Regions from separate parts of the Homo sapiens genome. Here region 1 is linked to region 2. The links are contacts of gene promoters, found by promoter capture Hi-C in human tissues and cell types (Jung and others, 2019). All regions are on one chromosome and are shown on one strand. The core of a region is centred on a gene start or on the middle of the fragment in contact, and the rest is flanking DNA. Distances in the headings are between cores, read along the strand shown.

Region 1 (5,988 bases), core at 1,883-4,382, 630 kb after region 2:
TAGGATTCCATCATGGGTTTTGGGTCCTAACCCCAAACTTCCTCTTTCAACTCATGATCCCTTTATAACCCTTTTCTCTGTTCTTCATTAGCCAATTCTTCTGGTCACTCTTTCTCACCCTCTTTAAATGGGTTTGCTTTATTTTATTCTTCACCCTAGTACTTAAATTGCTGTCAATTATATTTTATTATACTGTCTAACTGTCCTATTTTTTCTTTTTGCAATTTTTTTCATACAGATATCAGGGTCTTATTTAAATGTCACCAATATTTATTCCTTCTACACTTTTAGTCTCAGTAGTCAGATGCTATGATATCACATGAAACATTTTTGATTTTTTTTTTCCCTCCAGGATCGAAGAGCAGTCATAAAACCACAAAGTCAACGCAAACACAAGACTCTTCATTTCAGGGACTGATACTGAAAAGATCCAACAGGAATGTACCTTGGGATTTGAAATTAGAAAAGCCTTACATATATGAAGGCAGATTAGAGAAAAAGCAGGATAAAAAGGGAAGTTTTCAGATAGTTTCAGCCACCCACAAAAAAATCCCCACTATAGAAAGAAGCCATAAAAATACTGAATTGAGCCAAAACTTCAGCCCAAAGTCAGTGCTTATTAGGCAACAGATACTTCCCAGAGAAAAAACACCACCAAAATGTGAAATACAAGGAAACAGCCTCAAACAGAATTCACAATTACTTAATCAACCAAAAATTACAGCAGATAAACGCTATAAATGTAGTCTGTGTGAAAAAACCTTCATTAACACTTCATCCCTTCGTAAACATGAGAAAAACCATAGTGGAGAGAAACTATTTAAGTGTAAAGAATGTTCAAAAGCCTTTAGCCAAAGTTCAGCTCTTATTCAACATCAAATAACGCATACTGGAGAGAAACCCTACATATGTAAAGAATGTGGGAAAGCCTTTACTCTCAGTACATCCCTTTATAAACATCTAAGAACCCATACTGTGGAGAAATCCTACAGATGTAAAGAATGTGGTAAATCCTTCAGCCGAAGGTCAGGCCTTTTTATACATCAAAAAATTCATGCTGAAGAAAACCCTTGTAAGTATAATCCGGGTAGGAAGGCATCTAGTTGCAGCACATCCCTTTCTGGATGTCAAAGAATTCATTCTAGAAAGAAGTCCTACTTATGTAATGAATGTGGCAACACCTTTAAGTCTAGCTCATCCCTTCGTTATCATCAGAGAATTCACACTGGAGAGAAGCCTTTTAAATGTAGTGAATGTGGGAGAGCCTTCAGCCAGAGTGCCTCTCTTATTCAACATGAAAGAATTCACACCGGAGAAAAGCCCTATAGATGCAATGAATGTGGGAAAGGCTTTACTTCTATTTCACGACTTAATAGACACCGAATCATTCATACTGGAGAGAAGTTTTATAATTGTAATGAATGTGGTAAAGCCTTAAGCTCCCACTCAACACTTATTATTCACGAGCGAATTCATACTGGAGAAAAACCATGTAAATGTAAAGTATGTGGAAAAGCCTTCAGACAGAGTTCAGCTCTCATTCAACATCAGAGAATGCATACTGGAGAAAGACCCTATAAATGTAACGAGTGTGGGAAAACATTCAGGTGTAACTCATCACTTAGTAATCACCAGAGAATTCATACTGGAGAGAAACCATATCGATGTGAGGAATGTGGGATATCTTTTGGCCAAAGTTCAGCTCTTATTCAGCATCGAAGGATTCATACAGGAGAAAAACCCTTTAAATGTAATACATGTGGAAAAACTTTTAGACAAAGCTCATCACGTATTGCACATCAGAGAATTCATACTGGAGAGAAACCCTATGAATGTAATACATGTGGGAAACTTTTCAACCATAGGTCATCCCTTACTAATCATTATAAAATTCATATCGAAGAGGACCCCTAGAAAGTAGATTTGTATGTGTGAAAGCCTTAAACCAAAGCTCATCGAAGAATACATCCTTGAGAGAGATGTAATAAATGTAATGGATGTGAAAAAAACTGTAATAATTTAGCCCTCATTAGGTATTTAATTCCATGGATAAACCTCAGCTATATAATAGATATGAGGAAAGTGTTTGTGCCTGTCAGACACTTAAAAAAATAACCTGAGATGAAGAATTTACAATTGAAGACATTGACTTTAGCCATTTGTGAAATGGGTTTGCTTTTTCCCTTTTCCTACAGACGTATATGCTAGATGTCACGTGATCATCAGAAACAGATATCCGAGTGGGTGGGGAGGTGTGCTTTAGATTTCTCATTAGAAGACCACCAAACTGGTAATATTTTTATAGCATTTTAATAGCTTGATCAAATTGTACCTTTTTAGAGAAAAGGACCAAAATAAAAGAAAAATGAATTATGAACTACCTCTCAGTCTCTGGGGTTTGTCCTTTTCCTACCCTGATGTCAAACTTATGCATGGATTTCATTAAAAAAGAAAAAGAAAAATCTGGTCTTTTGTTCTAGTAGTTGTGAATTTTCTACTCAACTGTCTTAACTTGGTTTTGGATTTTATTTCTCTGAAGTCATTTATTAGGTGTACCAGTTATATGCCCTGAACTGTATTAGATAGAAAAACAGGCAATAATTTCAGGTTTAAAGCTACTAAATATGTATGTATGTATTTATTATTATTATTTTTATTTTGAGATGGAGTCTCTGTCACCCAGGCTGGAGTGCAATGGTGCGATCTCGGCTCACTGCAACCTCCGCCTCCCAGGTTCAAGCAATTCTCCTGCCTCAGCCTCTCGAGTAGCTGGGATTACAGGCACCTGCCACCACACCCGGCTATTTTGTATTTTTAGTAGAGACAGGGTTTCTCCATGTTGGCCAGGCTGGTCTTGAACTCCTGACCTCAGGTGATCTGCCTGCCACGGCCTCCCAAAGTGCTGGGATTACAGGTGTGAGCCACCGTGCCCGGCCACCCTAAATATGTATTTTTTAAATTTATAACGAACACATCAGAAGAACTTTCGCAAATCTAACACCTGTGGCAAACTCTTGAAAAGGACATTGCTATGGTCTCAATGTTTATGTCTCCCCCAAATCCCTGTGTTCAAATGCTAACCTCCAAGGTGATGGTATCATGAAGTGGGATGTGTGAAGAGGTGATCAGATCAGAAGGGCGGAGCCCTCAGTGCCCTTATCAGAGAGCCCCAAGGGAGCTTGTTCTGCCCTTCAGCCATGTGAAGGCACAGTGGTAAGATACCTTCTTTGAATCAAGATGGCCATAACCAGACACCAAACCTGCTAGCACTTTAAATGGGTTTCCCAGCCTCCAGAACTGTGAGAAATATTTTATTAGTTACCTAGTATGATGAGGTTATTTTGTTACAGCAGCCCAAACAAGACATGTGAATTGTTTCATAAACTTAGTGTAGTGTGACAGATCCCCTACCAGGTTACCTAAGGGTTTATATCCACTACTTGAGCCCTGAAGTCTGGACAGTAAGCAGAGGCCATGGTGCCCAGCTGAGGAGCAAGTGTCCCTGAGAACCCAAACATCCCAGAGTATCTGGGAACACACTAAGCAAACAGTCCAATCACACACGAGGCAAAGAGCCAGAAAACTGGCTTAAAAGCAGCTTAGAGGTGCGAGGTGGTGCAGATCTCCAGAGCTGTCCTGCTGCAGTCCAGGAGAGCCCTGTATGGAAGTCATAATAAACTCATCTGCTCATCAAGCTGGACTTGTCTGAGTCATTCTTTGGTCTCTCGGCTCCTTCCCAGTTTGAGGGGGGACATTACAGTCCTAAGTTTTTCTCAACAGTAAATATTTTTTAACTTTGGAGCAGGTACTATACAAGTTTACAAGTTTTAAAACTGTACAAGTTTTAAGACAGACACAGGCTTTTCTTCAAGAAGCCATGAATTGGGAAGGGGATGGAGTTGGGCTAGCAAATGAGCAAGCAGATTATATTGCAGTTTTTGTTGTTTCAGTAGGCAAATAAGTTATGACAATATGTTCCACTATGAAAATATTGTAAAGATTTGCACAGGATGAAGAAAGAGACTCATGAAGAAAGCCTGGAGACATCAAAGCTTTCCAGGGGCAATGATGCCTGGGCTATATTTGGGGAGAATAGTAGGAACTCCGAGGGAGACAGAAGCATTCCGATTAAGAGGAAACAGCATGCGCCAAACCACAGGTGGATAATAGGACATTTGGAAAACTTAATTTAGAACTAGTGAGCAGGAAAATGACAAATGTTAAAGCTCGAGTAGAAGGCAGAAGCCAAATCACAAAAGGCCTTATTTGCCAAGCTAAGGAGTTTGGATTTTATGGTAAAATCGGTGGAGTCAAAGATGGTAAGCAAGGGAAATTCCATAGAAGATAAGCGTATGGGGTTGAAGAAAGCTGATGACTGATGCCACCCAGGAAATCTGGGCTGTTTAAATTCAAGTAATAGGTAAATGAGGGTTCCAACTCAAACAGGGACAGCATTGATGGAGAACAGGAGACAGATAATCATGTATTAGAATAAATAAGGCATGGTTTTCATAGGCAAATAGGTGAGAGTGGCAAGTGAGGAGAAAGCTGACTCACAGGTAGGGTTGCCAAACGTCCTGTATTTAATGATTTTGTCCTGAATCCTGTATTAACTTTGTTAGGATGCCTTAAATGTATTCAGGGTTTCTCCCCTCATTAATGAAAAATCAGCACTTTGAGCTACGGTTCTGCTTCAGTAATTGGCGCTTAAATCGCTTAAGTGGCAATACAAGTTGGAAATCATACCTCCACAAATAAAGATCTGAACCATCTCTTATGTTTTATCCTATGTGTTTGACTGAGGGAAGGCAAAAGGGGGAAGTGAGAATAAAAGTACTTGTTTTCCGTATTAAAGAAAGGAAAAGACTGTTCTTTTGGCCAAATTCCTAAGTTGTAAAATAATCCCCAATAATTAGATCTTTGGATCAGTACACGTGGTCTGAAAAATCAATGATGGCCTCGCTGCCAGCAGCCATGCTTCTGAAATCAACTTCCTGACAGCCTCCAGCTTCTGAATGCCACTTGAGTGCTGCTTCTAGACCACGGTTGGTCAGCAAGTCCCTCCTTCCAGTGACCGTGCTTCTGGAAGTTAGCCAGTCGACAACCGTCTAATTCCAGTGACCACACTAACACGCTTGAAAATCTAACAGTCCATAAACATCCCTGCCTCTGAAAATTCGCCAGTCCCAGACACTGAGCTGCTTAAAATTTTGGATAAGATCAGCTCTGGCTTTCTTCAGGGATCCTGTTACTGCAAACACAGTTCTCCCTTGCAGGCATGCATCAAGTTCGACTTTTCTGTGTCACATATCAAGTTCAAGTTTATTGTTAGTTTGTAAGCTTCCAACCTTTCAATAGCTCAGCCTCAATTTATTGGTAATTATGCTTCACTCTTGTGAGTGAGATGATCGAAATTAGTATTTTCAATTATTGTTATTAACTTATTTTTTATTTTATATTTTGTGTTAAGGATACTTAATATGAGATCTACCCTATTGCCTATTTTCATTTATGTATATTTGAATCAAAATGCAAGTATAAGTTTCATGATTAATTTTTAAAATATTTGGTATCAGAGAAAAGATGTTTTGAAGCTCTTTCTACAGTACACAATTGTTCATTCAGTATTGAACATATTGGAAAGTCAGATATAAGGCAGGATATACTAACAGCTAAGCCTAAGTGATAGATGATTTCCTCAAATAGTGCTAAAGAAACGGATAAAGTAACAAATTTTCCGATGAAAGGAAATTCAGATAAAAATAAAACAACCATAGCAGAAATTGTAATGACTTTCCACACTCAATCTTTTCAGCTCAAATGACCAATGGAAACACACCAAAAGTATTTCCTGCTTCCAAAATTGCAAACGAATTTTCAAGTGCCAGGATAAAATCTGCAGTAATAAAAATGTAATCTTTCTGTTTACTATTAGAGACTATATAAAAGATCTAAAATGTCTCTTTTTACAGTATAACCCCAGATGCA
Region 2 (5,444 bases), core at 2,595-5,094:
CCTCAAGCACTTTGTCTTCCACTTCCAGGCAGAATCGATCTCAGTGGCGAGGGGATGCCTCCGTGCTGCAATGGCAGTAAAAACAATTGCTACTGAAACACCACCCACGTTTCCTCTTTTGCTGGACACGGCTCCCTATTAAAGTGTGTACATGGCGTCGGGGAGGGGCACGCTCAAGAAACAGCAAGAACCACACTTCCTAGAGGCCACCCAGCCTCCACATTCTGTTCAATCAGCATTCCCTTGACATATGGCTCACCAGGGCCACTCCCGGCCAGAACTCCGCCAGAGCATCTGATGGGACCACTGCACCCGCTGTTTGCCAACAGCAAAGTTGGACAGAGCTGCTGTCCTCAAGGCCCCTCGACAAGGTAACTAGCCCCTCATGCTTGGCCCGCTCTGCACACAGGCACCAGTGAGACTAAAAGAGTCCAGCTCCTTTCCCACAGCCCCTAAGAGCTTGTTTGTCATTAGGGAGGGCACTGAAACCTCACTGCCTCCATCTGCTTGGCAGGTTGTGCCAAGAAAGGTGACTTTGTCAAAGGGCAGGAGACCTTCTCAGGGGCTGGTTTCTGTGCAGACATTAGGAGACAGCAGTGGCTCTCAAATGGGCTCCTGTCTTTAATGAAGTCTGTGCTGACAAATGTGACCTGGAAGCCTGAGCCAGACCAGGGAGCCCGACCCTCCTCTCAGGGCAAGGCAGGGCACCCACCCACTGAGAGCTGTGGTGGGCAACAAACATTCCTCCTCCTTAGTGTTTCTTCTGCCAGGGATGTGGGGTGACTCGTGGCACCCAAGATGACCCGGAAAGGTCCTCACCTCTTTCTGCACCACACAACTTTGGGAAGATTTTAAGGGGGTTGGGTGTGTAAGGCCCGAGCTGACGCTGACTTGTCCTCACTCCTCCCTACAAACACTGGGCTTCTCGGTGAGGGTGACAACTCCAGGTTTTCAGGGATCATGGTGCTGACAATCACGAGCAATAGGCAGGTGTAGGGCAACAGGGGGTGGTGAGGACTGCGGTAAGCTGGAGAGCACAGCCAGACCTGAAGACATTCAGGCTCCAGTAGAAACGAACGCACGTGGCATGTGCTCAACAACACATCCGGCGGCGTTGGCCCAGTGGCCCTTAGTTTTTGTCGTTGGGACCTAGACTGAACATGCAGAGGAGCAGAGAGCCACTGGGGACTTCTATGTCCCGTATTTTACCTGGAAGAGGAAAAGGGGGACCAGAGAAAGAGGCAAACACCAGTAAGGGGGGAGAGGCAAGATTTGAATCATGGAGGTTTGAAGAAGTAGCAAGATTTTTGTTGTTGTTCTTTGGTTGTTTTTTGTTTTTCTGTTTGTTTCTGAGTGGAGGACAAATGATCACGGGCTGGGATGTGTCTGCAAGTCTCCTCCACCTCCCTGAGGGTTTAACTGTGAAGTTAGGTGCATGTGAGCCTTGTTCATCCACCACCCTGGTGGGTGACAGTGGGGGCACTAAAGGAAGGGCCAGGCAAGGGTGCTGCTCCATCCCCAACTCATCCCTGGTGGCAGGGGCACGGGTGATGTGGGAAGAATCAGCTGCCTGGGGTTATTCAGTGTCCAGGAGACAAATTCTTTCCCCCAAAAATATCCCAAAGCAAGTATCCCAAAGTATACAAAATAATTTAGCTCTGTGAACCTGTTAGAAGATGCCATCAACTCATAAAGTCAGAGTTACTCCTTTTCAGGCCTCCTTTCATCCTTCCAATCACATCAGAACAACGACCTCTGTGCTAGTCCATCTTAAGGCTTTTGTAACACTTACTAATCAGCTTCAGCCTTCGGTATCTTTAGCAGGTCAAAGTATCTGGAATTTGATAACATTTCTCTTCTTGTTGTATTTATTTTTAGCAATTATCTTTGATTTATGGAAACATGGTGAGATGCTGGCTTTTCCATTTATAGTAGTGATTTAAAGTATCCTTTAAAAAATTGAAAAAAGTTTTAGGCGCTGTGTAAAGAAATACCCAACCATAGACACGGCAGGAAGGTGCAGAACATGCCCCTTGAAGTAGGGGCGGCTGCTGGTTGGGTTTCACTCGTGTTTCGAAGAGGATGGAAGCGCTGACAACCACAGGAGGAATGCGTCATGGGTTCCAGGACAGCAACTGGCTGGACCCAACTCTGGGCTGCCTAGCTCCCCCAGCCTTCACAATTCAACTCATGCCACCTCTTACAGGAAGTCCTCCTGGATGCCCAGCTCTGGAGTCATCTCTGTGGTATACTAGGATTCCAGTTCCAACTTTCTCTGGAACCAGTTGGGTCATCACAGGTCACGAGAGCAGATGCCTACAGAGAGTGAGGAGAGGCGGGACCTGCCACAAACTGCAAGGTAAGTGCCCATTTAATGGTTGCTAAGCAGGACTGTGGGGCTAGCGTGGCCACATCTTCCAATATCTCAAGAAAAGTTACCAATCTAAATTTCCATGTGACATCTCACCATGCCTGGGAGCTGGATCCAGCCTCGGGCACCCTTAGGTGACACAGAAAGAGTACAGCTTGCAGGTGAAGATGGCTGTCCAGCTGCGATGCTCTCACACCCAGGACCCACAATCGAAAGAACCAAGGACGTGAGATCACAGTTAGAGCCTGCTGTGTAAGTCGTGTTTCCCCCAACGACTGGGACCTCCTGGCCAGCAGGGAGAGGCCTGAGTCATCTCCGGGTCCTCTGCCCCTGGCCAAAGCAAAGACCAAAGCCCTGGCCACACAGACCTGGGGCAGGGCAAATGAGAAAATCAAAGGGGTGGGTGTTCACCCTCTGGGGAAGTGAGGCAGAAATTGGGGGTCCCAGGGCAGAGATGATCAACAGCCTGAGAGGGGGCTCTCAGGCAGGCCCTGGAGAGAGGCCGCTGAGCTCAGACAGCATGGGAGGATCAGGGCCTTGCTGGAGAGGAGGGACTGGGGAGGGGTTCCGGTTGGCAACGGGCTCTAACAGCAAACTGGCCCCAGAATGGGCCCAGGTGTCCTTGGATGCTTGGGTGGAAAAGGTAGGCAGAGCTTGGAGAGGCCATTTCAGGTTGGGGGCCGGGAGTGCAATGGCGGGAGGACAGAATGCATACGTGGGGTTGAGGACAGGTGAGGGCAGGAGCCTGACTGTGCTCATGGGCAGAGAGCCCAGGTCTGGCAGGAAGAGGCTGTGCTGAGGCTGCAGCGGAGGGATGGGAAGGCAGATGGGGGACAGGGGACAGGGACTTCAGAGGAAGAGGAACTGGGGACTGAAGGAGCCTTGCCTCTCTCAGTAAGGGCAAAAGTTGATCTTTGGGGTCGCGCCCTGGGTGTACCCTCCTAACAGCATCTTCTGGCCTTTGCGGCCTCTATTTGGGCATTCGGCCTGGCTCAGACCTTGGACCCAGTAGTCAGTCCCCCCTCCCCTTTCATTCCCTCACCCTGTCCTGCCCCAGAGCACAGAGACAGGGGGATGCACCCCTTGAATTCCAGGGCTGATGGGTGGGACCCGGCACCCCAAGGGCTCTCTAGGTGGGGACGTTCGGCCGGCGCCGCTCCTCGGAGGTTGTGCCCCTGGGGTGGCTGGCGGCGGGGCTCCCCCGGCCCGGCCCGCGGCGCTTCTCTGCCGCCGCCTCGGGGTGTCTCTGCTTCGCTGCGAGCCCGGCACCGCGGCGACGGCGGCGCGAAGAGGGAAGCGGGCGGCGGCGGCGGCCGCGCCAAGATGCGCCGGGTCACCGCAGGCTGAGGCGCCCGCCGTCCCCGCCCTCCCCCTCGCTCGCCTCCCTCCCTCCCGCCTGCCTCCCTCGCTCGCTCGCTCCTTCCCTCTCCCCGCCTTCCCTCCGCGCTCCCCCGCCCGCCCCTCCGCGCCTCGCCTCCTCCGCCCCGCGCCCTGCGGTGCTGCAGCTGCGGGCGGCTCCAGCTGCCCCCAGATGTGGGCTGGGCGGCTCGCGGGGAACTTTCGCGCCGGCTGCGAGTGCGGGGCCCCGGCTGCAGTCCGGCTGCCATGGATCCGCCGGCGGGAGCCGCTCGCCGCCTGCTCTGCCCCGCGCTGCTGCTGCTGCTGCTGCTGCTGCCGCCGCCGCTCCTGCCGCCGCCGCCGCCGCCCGCGAACGCCAGGCTCGCCGCCGCCGCCGACCCCCCAGGTAGGTGCGGCCCGGCCCCTACTCCCCGGGACCCCCGCCGGCCTGGCCCTGTCCCGCGTGCCCCGCCGCCCCCTCCCCAGGCGTCGTCCAGCCTGACTTGGGCAAACTCCGCGCGCCCCGCCCGGGGCCAAGTTGGCCAACTTCGGGGCCGGGTTGGTCGCGCAGGGGGCGCCCCGCACCGCCCCCGAGCGCCTTGGGCCGGGGGAGCCTCGGAGCACTGGCGGCTCCTGAGTCGCGGAGGGTGGGGACGGAGGGCCGGGAAAAGCCCCGCGGCCAAGAGCGCAGAGTCAGCCCCAGCGGGTCCGAGGGGGGAGCCAGGGCGAGGCGGCGCCGGGGCTCGCGTCCGGGGACGCTCCGGAGGAGCCGGCTGCCGAGCGCGTAGCCTTGGGCCCTAAGGATTGGTTGGGGCGCCCCGCAGGGAATCCCCGGAGATCGGAGGGACCCTGTTCCACCCCTCCCAGTCCTCGGGCGCTCGGGGAGACGGGGCCGGCAGCGGGCTGAGCGGGAGCTGGACAGGCAGGACAGGCCGCTCGTGCTCGGGGAAGCCGAGACTCCGCCGCTCCGGAGGCTGGCGGTGAGGGCACTCGGGCGGCAGGGGCCCGCCGAGGGGTCGTGGCACACGGGTAAGGGGGCCAACCCGGAATGGCTTCCGAGCAGCTCCACGTCCTGCCAAGGACGGTAGGTGCAAGGGTCGGGGGACTCTCTGACGGGGTCGTCCCTTCGGGCACGGGGAGGTTCCCACCGAGCCCCAACCCTGAACGGGGCAGGGGGCAGAGCTCTTGGCAGGCAAGGTCTCCGGAGGAGGGAACGGCTGGGGAGTGGCGGAGCCCCGGAGTGGTGGCCCTGTTAACGCCCCTTCCCGGTTGCAGGAAAGCCGGGGAGGTGCAGGCTGGCTTCTGGGGTCGCCTGGCGGAATGCCCCTTCCCTTCGCAGTGGGGCGGGGTCTGGGGGGGCGTGGCTTGCCGGCGGGTCTCTGAGGCACTGGGGCTCCGTGGTCTCCGCCGATCTAACGCCCCTTCCCGTTGCAGGCGGGCCCCTGGGGCACGGAGCGGAGCGCATCCTGGCGGTGCCCGTGCGCACTGACGCCCAGGGCCGCTTGGTGTCCCACGTGGTGTCGGCAGCTACGTCCAGAGCAGGGGTACGAGCCCGCAGGGCCGCCCCGGTCCGGACCCCGAGCTTCCCCGGAGGCAACGAGGAGGAGCCTGGCAGTCACCTCTTCTACAATGTCACGGTCTTTGGCCGAGACCTGCACCTGCGGCTGCGGCCCAACGCCCGCCTCGTGGCGCCCGGGGCCACTATGGAGTGGCAGGGCGAGAAGGGCACCACCCG

Evidence for each region. Contacts are between HindIII fragments. The study calls those that stand out against the background at their distance.
Region 1: a contact is called between a fragment that was not itself captured here and the fragment with the promoter of ADAMTS2 in region 2, in 1 of the 25 tissues and cell types used here (lymphoblastoid cells).

What each region holds. Positions count from the first base shown.
Region 1 is chr5:178,707,986-178,713,973 of GRCh38, reverse strand. It overlaps ZNF354A (zinc finger protein 354A), which reads left to right. Exons shown (of 5, transcript NM_005649.3): 5 at 353-2,462. The coding sequence ends at 1,914. Among named protein-coding and RNA genes, the nearest start is that of MSANTD5, 13 kb to the right of the region's middle. The HindIII fragment of the contact is 7,128 bases long and covers 1-5,988 here.
Region 2 is chr5:179,343,861-179,349,304 of GRCh38, reverse strand. It overlaps ADAMTS2 (ADAM metallopeptidase with thrombospondin type 1 motif 2), which reads left to right and starts at 3,844. Exons shown (of 22, transcript NM_014244.5): 1 at 3,844-4,115; 2 at 5,144-5,444. The coding sequence starts at 3,977. It overlaps LOC105377759 (a long non-coding RNA gene), which reads left to right and starts at 50. Exons shown (of 3, transcript XR_941311.3): 1 at 50-371; 2 at 2,207-2,359; 3 at 2,526-2,944. The HindIII fragment of the contact is 12,907 bases long and covers 1-5,444 here.